Linked DNA regions of Homo sapiens: region 1 is linked to region 2. Evidence: promoter capture Hi-C in 16 types of primary human blood cells and fetal thymus (Javierre and others, 2016). All regions are on one chromosome and are shown on one strand. The core of a region is centred on a gene start or on the middle of the fragment in contact, and the rest is flanking DNA. Distances in the headings are between cores, read along the strand shown. Region 1 overlaps RNF216 (ring finger protein 216). Region 2 holds the start of WIPI2 (WD repeat domain, phosphoinositide interacting 2).

Evidence for each region. The method cuts DNA at HindIII sites, captures the fragments that hold promoters and counts their contacts. A CHiCAGO score of 5 or more calls a contact.
Region 1: a fragment that was not itself captured here is called in contact with the fragment with the promoter of WIPI2 in region 2 in 2 of 17 cell types (erythroblasts and fetal thymus); the score reaches 7.6 in erythroblasts.

The regions. Positions count from the first base shown.
Region 1 is chr7:5,661,396-5,668,035 of GRCh38, reverse strand. All of the region lies in intron 13 of RNF216 (ring finger protein 216), which reads left to right. RNF216-IT1 (RNF216 intronic transcript 1) reads left to right here. Exons shown (of 3, transcript NR_046834.1): 2 at 1,332-1,426; 3 at 5,471-5,604. Among named protein-coding and RNA genes, the nearest start is that of RNF216-IT1, 16 kb to the left of the region's middle. The HindIII fragment of the contact is 1,754 bases long and covers 755-2,508 here.
Region 2 is chr7:5,188,599-5,194,991 of GRCh38, reverse strand. WIPI2 (WD repeat domain, phosphoinositide interacting 2) reads right to left here and starts at 4,759. Exons shown (of 13, transcript NM_015610.4): 1 at 4,499-4,759; 2 at 1,821-1,874. The coding sequence starts at 4,572. RefSeq lists silencers at 4,265-4,314, 4,325-4,974. The HindIII fragment of the contact is 15,802 bases long and covers 1-6,393 here.

The sequences.
Region 1 (6,640 bases), core at 382-2,881, 480 kb before region 2:
GAATTACTGCCATCTTTACACAGCGCCCTAAAATACCAACGCGAAGTTACCTGCTCAGCTTGAAGCTGCGCTGTACCCTGGAACCAGCACTTCTGCTGAATGACTCAGGATGAAGCCTCGACTTCCTCCTTCCCATCCCATGCCCAGACCCCAGTGGCTCCTTTCCCCAATCTGATCCAGTGACTTTAAGTCCAGCTGTTGTCAGCCTGGGCATGAGGAGGAGTGTCAAGATGGTCTTTGTCCTACCTGGAAGGAGGCTTCCTGGAATCTGCAGCCTCTCTTCCAGGGCATGCTGACAGTGGAGTTCCAGCAGGCAGGAGCTGGTTTTGCTGGCTGTTCCTGCCAGGCCAAGATTCCCAGCAAAACCCTGGGAAGCCCAGAGGTAGCCCAAGCAGTGAGCAAAGACAAGGTCAGCCTGGCTTGTTTCTGCCCAAGTGATAACAGTGTTTCTATTTGACAGTTTGAAATGATTAGATCTGCTTCCTATGCATGGCCCTGCTCCTGCAGGATGGAGAAGGCTGGGGGGTTCCCCTGGTTCCCGGGCATTGTTCCTTATCAGCAGAGTCACCTCCAGGGTAACTAGAGATGGGGCTGGTTTTCAGTTCCTGGCAGTGATCCTTGGGACTTCCTATTGTGAGAATGAGCCTTTTGGTGCCTTTTTAAAGAAACTTTAATTCTGAATGAATTCTAAATTAATGGCTTTTAAACTTTTTTGTTTGTGACCTATAGTAAGAAATATAAATTACCATAAGCTTCATCCAAACATAAATAAATATAGGTGGAACAGAAACAGTTTTATAAAACAAATACTTGACACATGGAATGTGCCCTAGTATTTTTGTTCTAACTTTAAATCCACTAGTCATAATCTACTGAAGTGACTTTACAACCCACCATAGGGCCACAGTTTATAGTTTAAAAGTCATGGCTGGCCAGGCACAGTGCCTCACAACTGTAATCCCAGCATATGGGAGGCCGAGGCGGGTGCATCCTTTGAGCCCAGGAGTTTGAGACCAGTCTGAGCAACATAGCAAGACCTGGTCTGTACAAAAAATTAGCCAGGTATGGTGGCATGTGCCTGTGGTCACAGCTACTCTGGGCACTGAGGGGGCAGGATCACTTGAGCCCAGGCTTGAGCCCAGTGAGCTATGATGGCACCACTGACTGCACCCCAGCCTGGGTGACAGAATGAGACCCTGTCTCAAAAAAAAAAAAAAAAAAGTCATTGCTGTAGTAACTTCGGTTCCACAACCTGTATTGTATGGAGCATCTATGGGGAGCAAATCCTTTGGAAGGGGCTTAGTCACAGCCTCCCCTCCTGCCCTTTCCAGGCTGTGAGAAGCTCGGCAGGAAGGCGGGAGAGGCCCCACCTTCAGAGGCGCAGCTCAGAAGGCTTGAGAGCTCCCCGTGAAAGGGATCCCTGCAGGTGGGGTTCTTTGGGAATCAACCTCATGCACAGCCATTGCAGAGGCTCTTCTTCAGCATCTGTTTACTCTGGGCTCAGGCCCCAGGCAGCCTGCAAACCCAACCCTCCTCTCCACCTTACAGCTCTGCCCACCCTGCTCCTCCCTGTTCCTGGTGCCTGGAATTCTTTCCCCCAGATAGCACCAGACTCTCTCCCTCGCCTTTCTTAAGTCTTCACTTACATGCACCTTCGCAGAGAGGCCTTCCCTGACCACCAGTTTATAATCGTGAACTATTTCCCCCTCTCCACCCCAGTGCATTCTTCCTTTATTTTTTTCTCCTCAGCACTTACAATCATGTCTTAACTGTATATTACACTTAATGTGTGTCCCCACTGCAGAGCAGGACCCATAGTCCTTAGTAGGAGCTCACATACTGGTTTCGGATTTTTTTTTTTTTTTTTTTTGAGACGGAGTCTCACTCTGTCGCCCAGGCTGGAGTGCAGTGGCGTGATCTCCACTCACTGCAAGCTCTGCCTCCCAGGTTCACGCCATTCTCCTGCCTCAGCCTCCCGAGTAGCTGGGACTACAGGCGCCCGCCACCACGCCCGGCTAATTTTTTTGTATTTTTAGTAGAAACGGGGTTTCACCGTGTTAGCCAGGATCGTCTCGATCTCCTGACCTCGGGATCCGCCTGTCTCGGCCTCCCAAAGTGCTGGGATTACAGATGTGAGCTACCGCGCCCGGCCTTGGTCTTGGAATTTTTATATAAATGTCCACATGATGCCATTGCCTAGGCGTTGCTGATATAGTCTCGGTGATTCTGTTAAACAGCCATTCGAGAGAAACAGTCGTCTGTATTTGAGTAACTAAGGGAATTGGTAGTTTTGTTTGTAGTTACTATGATAAAGATAAAATTGAACTTTGATTTATTCCAGAAAGACTTTACCCTCCCACTCTGTCCTCGAAGCCCTGGTCCCCATAGTATAGTAAAAAGCCGGCAGCTATGTGTGGTCTCTCCCAGAGCAGTCAAGCTGGTGTCTCGGTGCCTTGTAACTTTCCATCCCTAGGGGGCAGCATTAGCACAGAAACCACATATAAAGCTTCTATTCCAATTTGTCACCTAATCCTGGTGGCTCAGGGAAAGAACTTTTCTAATCCACAGAAATAACACTTCAAGATTTCTTTTTTCAAAGCCTGGTTCTGTACATAGAAATGGTAGGTGAGGTGTGTATGAAAACAAAAAATATTTAAGAACAACATGAAATCTTCCCCAAAGAAGCCCTTTCCTCAGGACTAGGGAGTGAGGTGGGGGAGGCTTTGTAATGGTTCCCAGAGCTCTCACTTGGCCACTCCCAGATTTGAATTTCTGCATTTGGAAATGTAAAGGTTCTCCTTCCTTTGAGAGATGATTTACTGTACTTTGAGGATAGAGAGGAATCCCCTGCATGGTGAGCTTGGCTTCTTAGATGTGACATAATCAGATCATTACAAGACACTGTTAGAAGAATTCATGTTAGAATTTTGTGTGTCCTGGCTGGGTGCGGTGGTTCGTGCCTGTAATCGCAGCACTTTGGGAGGCCGAGGCGGGCAGATCACCTGAGGTCAGGAGTTCAAGACCAGCCTGGCCAACGTGGTGAAACCCAGTCTCTCCTAAAAAATACAAAAATTAGCCAGGCCTGGTGGCGGGCGCCTGTAATCCCAGCTACTTGGGAGGCTGTGGCAGGAAGAATTGCTTGAACCTGGGAGGTGGAGGTTGCGGTGAGCCAAGATTGTGCCATTGCACTCCAGCCTGGGCAACAAGAGCAAAACTTCATCTCAAGAAAAAAGAAAAAAAAGAATTTTGTGTGTCCTTTAAGAACTGGACCCAGGCAGTTTGGATTATCTTGTTTCTGGGAGTGCAGAGGAGAATGCTGGCCAGTGGGGGAAGCGTGCAGCCTACCCTTGGGCGGCAACTGGCCTTCCACAGCCCCTGGGGGTGTTGGGGAGAGCCAGGCTGGGACACAGGCAGAATGCGCATTTCCAGTCCTGACCCCTCTAAACCAGAAGTTCTCTTGGGCACACATTTTCAGGGTCTACTGTTTGTGAGCTCCTTTTATCCTGATTGAAGAGAGATCAACTTCCATGTCTTGAAACTACAGGAGAAAATCAACAAAGAACATCCTAATTGAAACATATGCAGTACTTTCTCACACCATCTGCAAGCATTTGGTCATTAGCTGCTTGGTAATAACTGCTGTTTGTAGTTTAACTCATTAAATTGGGGAAAGACATTAGGGAGCAAAGAAAGGAAGGACAGTAACTCATCCTTAAGGCTGAAGCTGTAATGAATTAACCTGAAAGGGTCGTATATATTAATAATTTCATTTTCTCATAAAATACTTGGCATAATTATAAATAAGACCCAATAGGGAGGAAATAATGTTCTTTCAGAGAGGAGATAGATACGCTTTTTTTGCCCATGGAAAGTACAAAAAAACAACTCTCTGCATGGAGAAGATGTGCTTTGTCTTGCCAGCCTCCAGCTCAGACATTCAGCACCTTGTGCCGCTCAAATCTAGTGCTAGGCCCTAGAAATCCAAAGATACCTGAGATGTACGGTGGTTGATTACGAGCCCCTCCAGGTCAGGAATTCTCCAGGCTTCATCTCCATCGCATCTCCATGTGGCACAGAATAGGCACTCAAGTGAACTTTTTTTTTGTTTTGGGGTTTTTTTGTTTTGTTTTGTTTTTTTGAGACGGACTCCCTCTCTGTCGCCCAGGCTGGAGTACAGTGGCAGGATCTCGGCTCATTGCACCCTCTGCCTTCTGGGTTCAAGTGATTCTTCTGTCTCAGCCTCCTGAGTAGCTGGGACTACAGGCGTGCGCCACCACACCCGGCTAATTTTTGTATTTTTAGTAGAGACAGGGTTCACTATGTTGGCCAGGCTGGTCTCGAACTCCTGACCTCGTGACCTGCCCGCCTCAGCCTCCCAAAGTGCTGCGATTACAGGCACGAACCACTGTGCCCGGCCTCAAGTGAACTTTTTTTTTTTTTTTTTTTTTTCCTGAGGTGGAGTCTCGCTGTGTCGCCCAGACTGGAGTGCAGTGGCGCAATCTCAGCTCACTGCAAGCTCCGCCTCCCGGGTTCAGGCCATTCTCCTGCCTCAGCCTCCCGAGTAGCTGGGACTACAGGCGAACGCCACCACACCTGGCTAATTTGTTTTTGTGTTTTTAGTAGAGACGGGGGTTTCACCGTGTTAGCCAGGATGGTCTCGATCTCCTGACGTCATGATCCACCTGCCTCGGCCTCCCAAAGTGCTGGGATTACAGGCGTAAGCCACCATGCCTGGCCAAGTGAACTTTTTTTTATTGGATGAATTGAGCCCTCCATGCCAAGCCTGTCCATAGTGACCAGCAGGACGTCATCTTTGCCGCAAGGAGCGCCTGGCATTTGGAAAAGATGTGACATAATCAGATAATTACAAGACGCCACTAAAAGTGCAGTAACAACGCATAAGCTAAGTGCTGTGGGAGCCCAGTGAGCAAGTGCCAGCTCTTCCCGGGTCATTTGGGTTTCCCAAGCCACTGGTATTTGAAAGGAGAACTGGTGAGTAGGTGTTGCCAGAGGAGAAGAGATATTCTTAGGCAAAATGTTGTGCCATTGAGGGCATAGGGGGTGTGGGTGCTGGATTCTCTGAGCGCTCTGTCCTGTCCCAGCTCCGTCTACTGTCCTGCTTGCATTCCCTGTACCTGGAACGCTTCTCTACCAGATAGCCTTCAGGCTCAAGCAGAAGTGCCAGCTCTACACAAGCCTTCCCTGACAAACCAGTGTCAGATGGCACCCTCCCTGTTCACACTGCCTGCCCCCTACCTGGCTTTAGTTTCCTCTGAGGTACTCACCATCTTCCTCAGAGTATACAGTTATCTGTTTGTGAGTAGACTCTAAGAGGACAAGGGCTTCGTTTTATACCGATCCCTCTCTCTGGCACTGATGGAAGGCTCTCAGCGGCACTGATGGAAGGCTCTCAGTGGCACTGGTGGAAGGGGCAAGGGTGGGAACATGAGAGTGTCTTCATTCCTTTCAGTGCAGAAACTGTCTCTGTTACCTGCATTGCTCTGAACAAAACCGACCCAGAGCAGTTTCAGTGATGGTGATAATCTCAAGCAATGCCATTACCAAATCTTAATGCCCTGATCCTGGCCACCTTTGAGGAGGTAAGTGGCAAGTATTTACAAGTAAGCGTCCAGGGGCTGGTTGAGGGAGTGACTATGGAACACTTTCATGGAGCCTATCTCTGTTTATGCGGTAATGGAAATCTAAAAATGGACTTCCTTTTGCTATACCGCCAGACATGCAACTGCCCAAAGGTGGCAGGAACAGCTACTTCCTCACACGTGTCCAGTCTGAGATCACCCTGTGATTAGCAGGTTCCTATCGTTACCAGTAAGAAAGGGTATCCTCAGGTCTGATTCCATCCCATCCTGCCTCTTACTGAGCCATTCGCAGCTCTCCAGGAAGCAGACATCCTGCACAGCTGCAGCTGCACGGCCATGCCTTTGATGCCCTGATGCTCACACCCAGATTTGCTGATTGTTCCTCTGTGGTCTTCTCACACAAGATGCCATTGTAACCTCAGCTTGTCTCATAGCCACGTGCCCTTGGGTTCTCCAGTAAACAGTGACCTGCTTTCGCTAGCAAACGCCATGTGGGCACACAGTGGGACTAGAGTAAGAGCAAGTGGATTTGGGATCAGACAGACTCATGTCTAAAGCTCTGTGACCTCGACCAAATTAATTGGACCCTCTGAGCCTTCTTTTTCTCTTACCTTTTTTGTTTTTGTTTTTGTTTGAGCAGAGTCTCATTGTCTCGCCCAGGCTGGAGTGTAGTGGCACAATCTCAGCTCACTGCAACCTCTGCCTCCCAGGTTCGAACGATTCTCATGCCTCAGCCTCCCAAGTAGCTGGGATTATAGACTTGCACCACCACGCCTGGCTAATTTTTGTATTTTTTGTAGAGACGAGATGTCACCATGTTGGCCAGGCTGGTCTCAAACTCCTGACCTTAAGTGATCCACCCTACTCGGCCTCCCAAAATGCTTGGATTACAAGAGTGAACCACCATGCCCAGCCGTATTTACTTTTTTAAAAATGGGAATAATTCTCCAGTACTTCCCTGTAGAGTTGCTGTGAAGATTGAGATGTGTATGCAAAGCACCCTTTGTGAAGATGTGTAAGTTTTCAGTCCTAGCAGGTCT
Region 2 (6,393 bases), core at 3,510-6,009:
ATCCTCCTCATTTCACGGCCCCACAAGCCCGCCTCTGGAGCCCTGGCCTGCCCATTCCTGAGCCTGGAGGGGATTCTGCAGTTTAAACTAGGTTGGTTCTCTGCTTTCTTCACTAGCAATTTGAGATCCCACTTCCTTTACCACTCGCTAGCTTCCAAACTGGCTAATATCTCCTTTCTCATTCTTTCTATCGTATGAGTTTAAGCCTTTTAAAATATCTTTTTGAGGTCAAGGGTGGTGGCTTGCGTCTGCAATCTGAGCTACCCAGGCGGGAGGATCACTTGAAGCCAGGAGTTTGAGACCAGTTGGGGCAACAAAGTGAAACCCCATCTCTACAAAAATAAAAAATTAAGAAATGTTTAAAATTAGAAAATGTATATTTTTGACATTTTACTGATTAACATTTTATTAGGGTCTGGGGATGGAACCAAAATAAATGCTTATGTTTGATCCATCATTTTTAACTGAAAGTCTCCGTCAATGAATTTAAACTTGAACATTGAACATCAAAGAGACAGTGACTGCCACTCAAAAATGAAGATGTGAGTCAGATTTTTTGCTTATTTTCCTTTTCTCCCCCTTCCCTAATCGTCAGTCCGTAAAGACTCTCCTTCTTCATCATCTTTGCGGAGAAGCCATACTTGATTGCGTGCTTAGGCGGATAGAGCCCGACACTGTAAACCAAAAGCAACCTCAACTGTGGCTGCCAGCCCAGACCTGGGAGGCCCTGGTGCCCTCTCTTTCAGGGCTATGGACAGCCCACCCCCATCCCCGCTCCCCCTCACATCCTCCACCTCCATATCCCTGTGGCCTTTCCAACTCATCAGTATCCCCAAGCAGAGTTCTCTCCTTCTCGGCTTTTTCACCACGATGTTATCACATTCACCCAGAACCCAAGCCAGAAACTGGGCGTCACCTAAGTTCTCCCTTGGCTGCATGATGCACGTCCTGTGGGTCACACAAGTCCTGATGGCGAGACAGTCTCCTTCCCACTGGTCACTGCTGTTGGATGATATCCTCCTAAGTCACCCCCTGCCCTCCTCAAACATATCCTTTGCATAGCAGGCAGAATTACTTAAAACTTTAAGGGTGAAGGATCTTAGAAACCATCTTCAGGCCGGGCACAACGGCTCACACCTGTAATCCCAATGCTCTGGAGGCTGAGGCAGGAAGATCGCATGAGGCCAGGAGTTCAACACCAGCCTGGTCGACATAGCAAGACCCTGTGCCTACAAAAACTAAAAAAAAAATTAGCCAGGTGTGGGGCCTACGCCTGTAGTCCCGGTTTCTCGGGAGGCTGAGGCAGGAGGACCGCTTGAGCCCAGGAACTCAAAGTTGCAGTAAGCTATGATCATTATAACTATGCCACTGCACTTCAAACTGTGCAACAGTGAGACTCCATCTCAAAAACAAAAACCCAAACCCTTGATTTACAGATGAACAAAGAGAGGAGAGCAGTACCTTCCCAGCACAATAAGCATAACCTAGAAGAGACATGGTGGAAGAAAACAACAGGTTTCTCCTGTTGTCTCCACACACTTCATAACATCAATTCTACAAACACAAGACTTGGAAAGTCAAGTCCCTTTCTTCATTCCATCCCTTTTAGACATGGCATTTAAAACAGACATTGCTACATCACTAACTTCCCACAAGCTGTGGTATCCACTGGAAAAATGTAGTCCTTGATATTTCCATTTCAGATTCAAGTGATCCTCTCCCACTTATTAACTGGTTCACTGCAATTTCAAAAAGCCAAAAAAGTCCTCTAACATAAGCCTTCCAAGGTGATACTTTCAGAAACCAGGGTTGGAACTAACCAGACAACAGCGCGACGGCCAAGACCAGCTGCTCTTGATGCCCCTTTCACTTCTCTAGGTAAAAAAACAAAACAAAACAAAAAACAAATGGTAAAAAACAAATAAAACTTATGCACACTTTTAGGATAGGAATCATGAAAAAGTACGACATTGGAAATCATATTACCAGTAAAGAAAGGCAGGACAGTTATAGTTTGGTATGTAACAAATACAAAAAGAATTTAAAAGACAAAAAAAAGGGAAATGACCCTATAACATATATATTCTAGTAAGTGAACTGGCTTCCAAATTTTCTCACTGCATACAGTAAATGTGAGTTCTAGACGGTCATTCTTTCACTTGCTAAAAATTGTGCTCCTCAATAAATTCTGGAGATTAAGAAGGGAGGAAAAGGTATAAGCCATAAAAGCTCTCTCCGGGAACTTCTCTATTTCTTTCAAGTGTAGATTTAAAACAAATTACCGTCATTTTAGCCCAGTCAACTTCTAGTATAATCCTAGCTTACTATTCATTCCAATTTAGGTTTACACTACATCAAGGTCTCTCTGGCAAGTCAAAGTTATGAAATCTCAAAGTAACAGAAATCTCTTGAACTGTAATAACTTCGGGGAGCATGGAGAAGTGGGTAAGTGTGAAAATGTCCAAGTGTGAAAAGGTCCTATTTCAGGCCAGAGTGACACTCTTCTGTGACACAGGGAACATGGCAGTCCAGCTGAAGTAACAGTAAAAGAGAATGCTTTTCTCTATTTGATTTCATTCTGATAGAAATAATTAGTGAAAAACTGAAAGAGTGGCCGACAATGTTTTGGAAACTCTCTAATTTATACAAGGCATAAACCACCCTACTACTACTACCATTTCTTACTGGTCTCAAAATACTGTGGCCTTGGGCTTAAAAACCAAATTAGAATTGGTTTGGGATGTGTCCTTTTCCCTATCTGGATTAACATAGTCTATTCCACTTGAACTGCAACAGGTTGTCCGAATTGTTTGTTGTTCTGGCTTTTGGTCACACAGAACGCTACAGTACTTGGGAGTTTTCATCTTTACACGTTGTTATGCTATTATTTCTAAATTCACTGTCTTCAGAATTCTACTCTGTAAACAGAAAAAAAAACAGCATGGCAGAGCAGAAAGAACATTGGAAGAGAGCTCAGGAGGCGAGATTCCACTCCTGCCCCCGCTCCACTATTAACCAATTCCAAAACCCAGACCAGCTTGGAGCCTTTCGGAAGGATTTCCTCATCTGTAGTTGGATGAGGTGATTTGCCCCTTCCGACTCTCAATACAGTCCCACTGTGCGACTGTCTTCACAGCTTTGGGGAGGTGCTATTGAGTGCCTGCTGTACACCACCCACTGAGTGTTGTCCATTCTACAATTCACTTTTAATTTCCTAAAGAATCTTACCTTCTGCTATGTTAATTCCACTCAGCCAGTAACAACTCAACCAATGACTTAGTAAGATGCCAAATGCCCCACTCCTTCTCTTTCCTCACTTCCTCTTACTCACTTCCAAGATGGCTCTCCTCCCTGCCAACCCCATAACTCACCCTTCTCTCTCCAGAAAGCTCGCTCATCTATTAACCATCCCCACAAGTCCTCCTCCCAGGCAGCATCCAACCCGTATCAGTGGGGACAAACAGCGTTCCGAATGCACGGGCTGGCATTAAGGCCTTCTCTTGCCCTGAGGATGACCCACCCGCTGGAGCTCTGAGACTCCTGGGGCACTGGTCCGTAACGCCTCTCTTGGCTCAGTTTCTCCCTAGCTAGGTCAGATGCCAAGGTTATTGCTAAGTTTGTTACTTGCTGGAGAAGACATCAAAGTTGATGTCCCAAAAAGAACAGGGAGGGCCGCGCACGGTGGCTCACACCTGTAATCCCAGCACTTTGGGAGGCTGAGGTGGGCGGATCACTTGAGGTCAGGAATTTGAGACCAGCCTGACCAACATGGTGAAACCCTGTCTCTACTACAAATACAAAAAAGTTAGCTGGGCACAGTGGCGCGTGCCTGTAGTCTCAGCTACTCGGGAGGCTGAGGCAGGAGAATCGCTTGAACCCAGGAGGCGGAGGTTGCAGTGAGCTGAGATGGCACCACTGCACTCCAGCCTGGGCAACAGAGCAAGACTCTGTCTCAAAACAAAACAAACCCCAAAAAACAAAAACAAACAAAAAAACAGTGAGAAACGAAGAAAAGAAAATCAAGAGAGAGAGAAGGGTCTTAAGACGATGAAAAGACAAGGAGAAGGGCCTGATTCAAAGGAGAGTGAGTGGGAGACGCTGAGCAAGCAGCGGGAAGAGGAGACGAGAGGAGAGGAAGCGACCCACACCCAGCGCTCCACAGGCGGCCAAGACAAGTCAAGCCCCAAAGTTCGGCCCCAACTTTGCGAGAAGTAGTTAAGTCTGAAGCCAGGGGGCCTCCCCGCAAGAGGGTGAAAGCAGCCCCCTCTCCACCACCTCTCCCGCTCCGGGACCGCAGCTCCAGGCCAGCACCCGAGGGTCTCCCTGGAGGGCGCCCCTCCCTGCACGCCCCGGGCCCGCCCCTGGGGACGCCTCTGCGCGCCTTGGCCCGCGGGGAGGCCGAGCCTGCGACGCCGCCGAGCTTGGCAGCGAGGCCCTCCCCCTAGCCCGGGTCCGACCCTGGCCTCACCCCGACTCCGACCCCCGACCCCGGCCTTACGTGTTGTCCTGGTTGAAGTTGGCGAAGAGCAGCTGGCCGGCGCCGGCCTCCCCGCTCTGGCTCGCCAGGTTCATGGCTGGGCGCGCGGCGAGTGGGCCCGGCCGGGGAGGGCGCGCGCGCGAGGGCGGGTCAGGCTGCACTCAGGGTCGGCGCCGGGCCCCGCTCGCCGCCTCGGTCGCCGCCACTCGCCACCCTGGGATCAACCGCCGCCTCATCCCGTCCCCGCTCTTGTTTATGCTCCAGAGCCGGGGCACCCGGTACGCCTGCGCGGCCCCGCCCCCGCGACGCACGGCCTCGAGCGGCGCAGTCGCACTGCGGAGGCCCCGCCCTCTCACCGCCTGCCTGGGCTTGGGTTCCGGTGGATCACGCAGGCGTGGGGACGCGTCGGGGCGCGCTGGGCCTGGCTGAGGGCGAGCGGCGGCCGCTCATGCGCATGGGGCAGAGCTGGCGGGAGTCTGTTTTCTGCGTACCCTCCTCTTAATAACACTCAATGGCCAGGCACGGTGGCCTGTAATCCCAGCATTTTGGGAGGCCAAGGCGGGCGGATCACCTAAGATCAGAAGTTCGAGACCAGCCTGGCCAACATGGTGAAACCCCGTCTCTACTAAAAATACAAGAAAAATTAGCCGGGCTTGGTGGTGTACGCCTGTAATCCCAGCTACTCGGGAGGCTGAGGCAAGATAATCGCTTGAACCCAGGAGGCGGAGATTGCAGTGAGCCGAGATCATGCCACTGCAATCCATCCAGCCTGGGCCATAGAGCGAGACTCTGTCTCAAACAACAACAAAAACAAAAACAAAAACACCCCAATGGGCCCTCCATGTGCCAATCACTGTGCTGAATGCTTCTGCGCATTACCTTATCATTTTATTATTTTGAAAGACAAGGTCTCGCTCTGTTGCCTAGGCTGGAGTGCAGAGGCTCAATCACAGCTCACTGCAGCCTCAAACTCAGGCTCAAGCGATCCTCCCACCTTAGCCTCCCAAGTAGCTGGGACCACAAATGCATGCCACCACACCCTGCTAACTTTTAAGTTTTTTGTAGAGATGGGGTGGGGGCGGGGGGGGTCTTACTCTGTTGCCTAGGCTGGTCTCGCACTCCTGGCCTCAAGTGATGCTCCCACCTCGGCCTCCCAAAGTACTGGGATTACAGATGTGAGCCACTGTGCCCAGCCACATTATCTTATTTGATGCCCATTACAATCCTAAGTAGAGAATAGTATATCTTAATTTTACAGATTTGAAAATCGAGGCTCAGAAATAATTATTAGCCAAGTGCTAGATCTGAGACTGGAAACGTCCTGTTTCTCCAAGGTCCATACTGTCTGGGTTCCTGGGACAGAATCGTCCCTTAAATTTATTCATTCATTCAACAGTATTTAGGACGCACCTCTCATGTGAACTAAATAGGCCTCCTCCTTTCCCTCAGAGAAGTTATAATGGGGAGATATTTAAATATAAATAGAAGGCCAGGTGTGGTGGCTCTTACCTGTAATCCCAGCACTTTGGGAGGCTGAGGCGGGTGGATCACCTGAGGTCGGGAGTTCCAGACCAGCCTGGCTAACATGGTGAAACCCCGTCTCTACTAAAAGTACAAAAGTTAGCTGGGTATGGTGGTGGGCACCTGTAATCTCAGCTACTAGGGAGGCTGAGGTGGGAGAATTGCTTGAGCCCCACAGGTGGAGGTTGCAGTGAGCCGAGATTGCACCTCTGCACTCCAGCCTGGACGGACGACAGAGTGAGACTCCATCTAAAAAGTAAAATAAAATAGGCTGGGCATGGTGACTCACGCCTGTAACCCCAGCACTTTGGGAGGCTGAGGCAGGTGGATCACCTGAGGTCATGAGTTTGAGACTAGCCTGCCCAACATGGTGAAACCCTGTCTCTAGGAAAAAT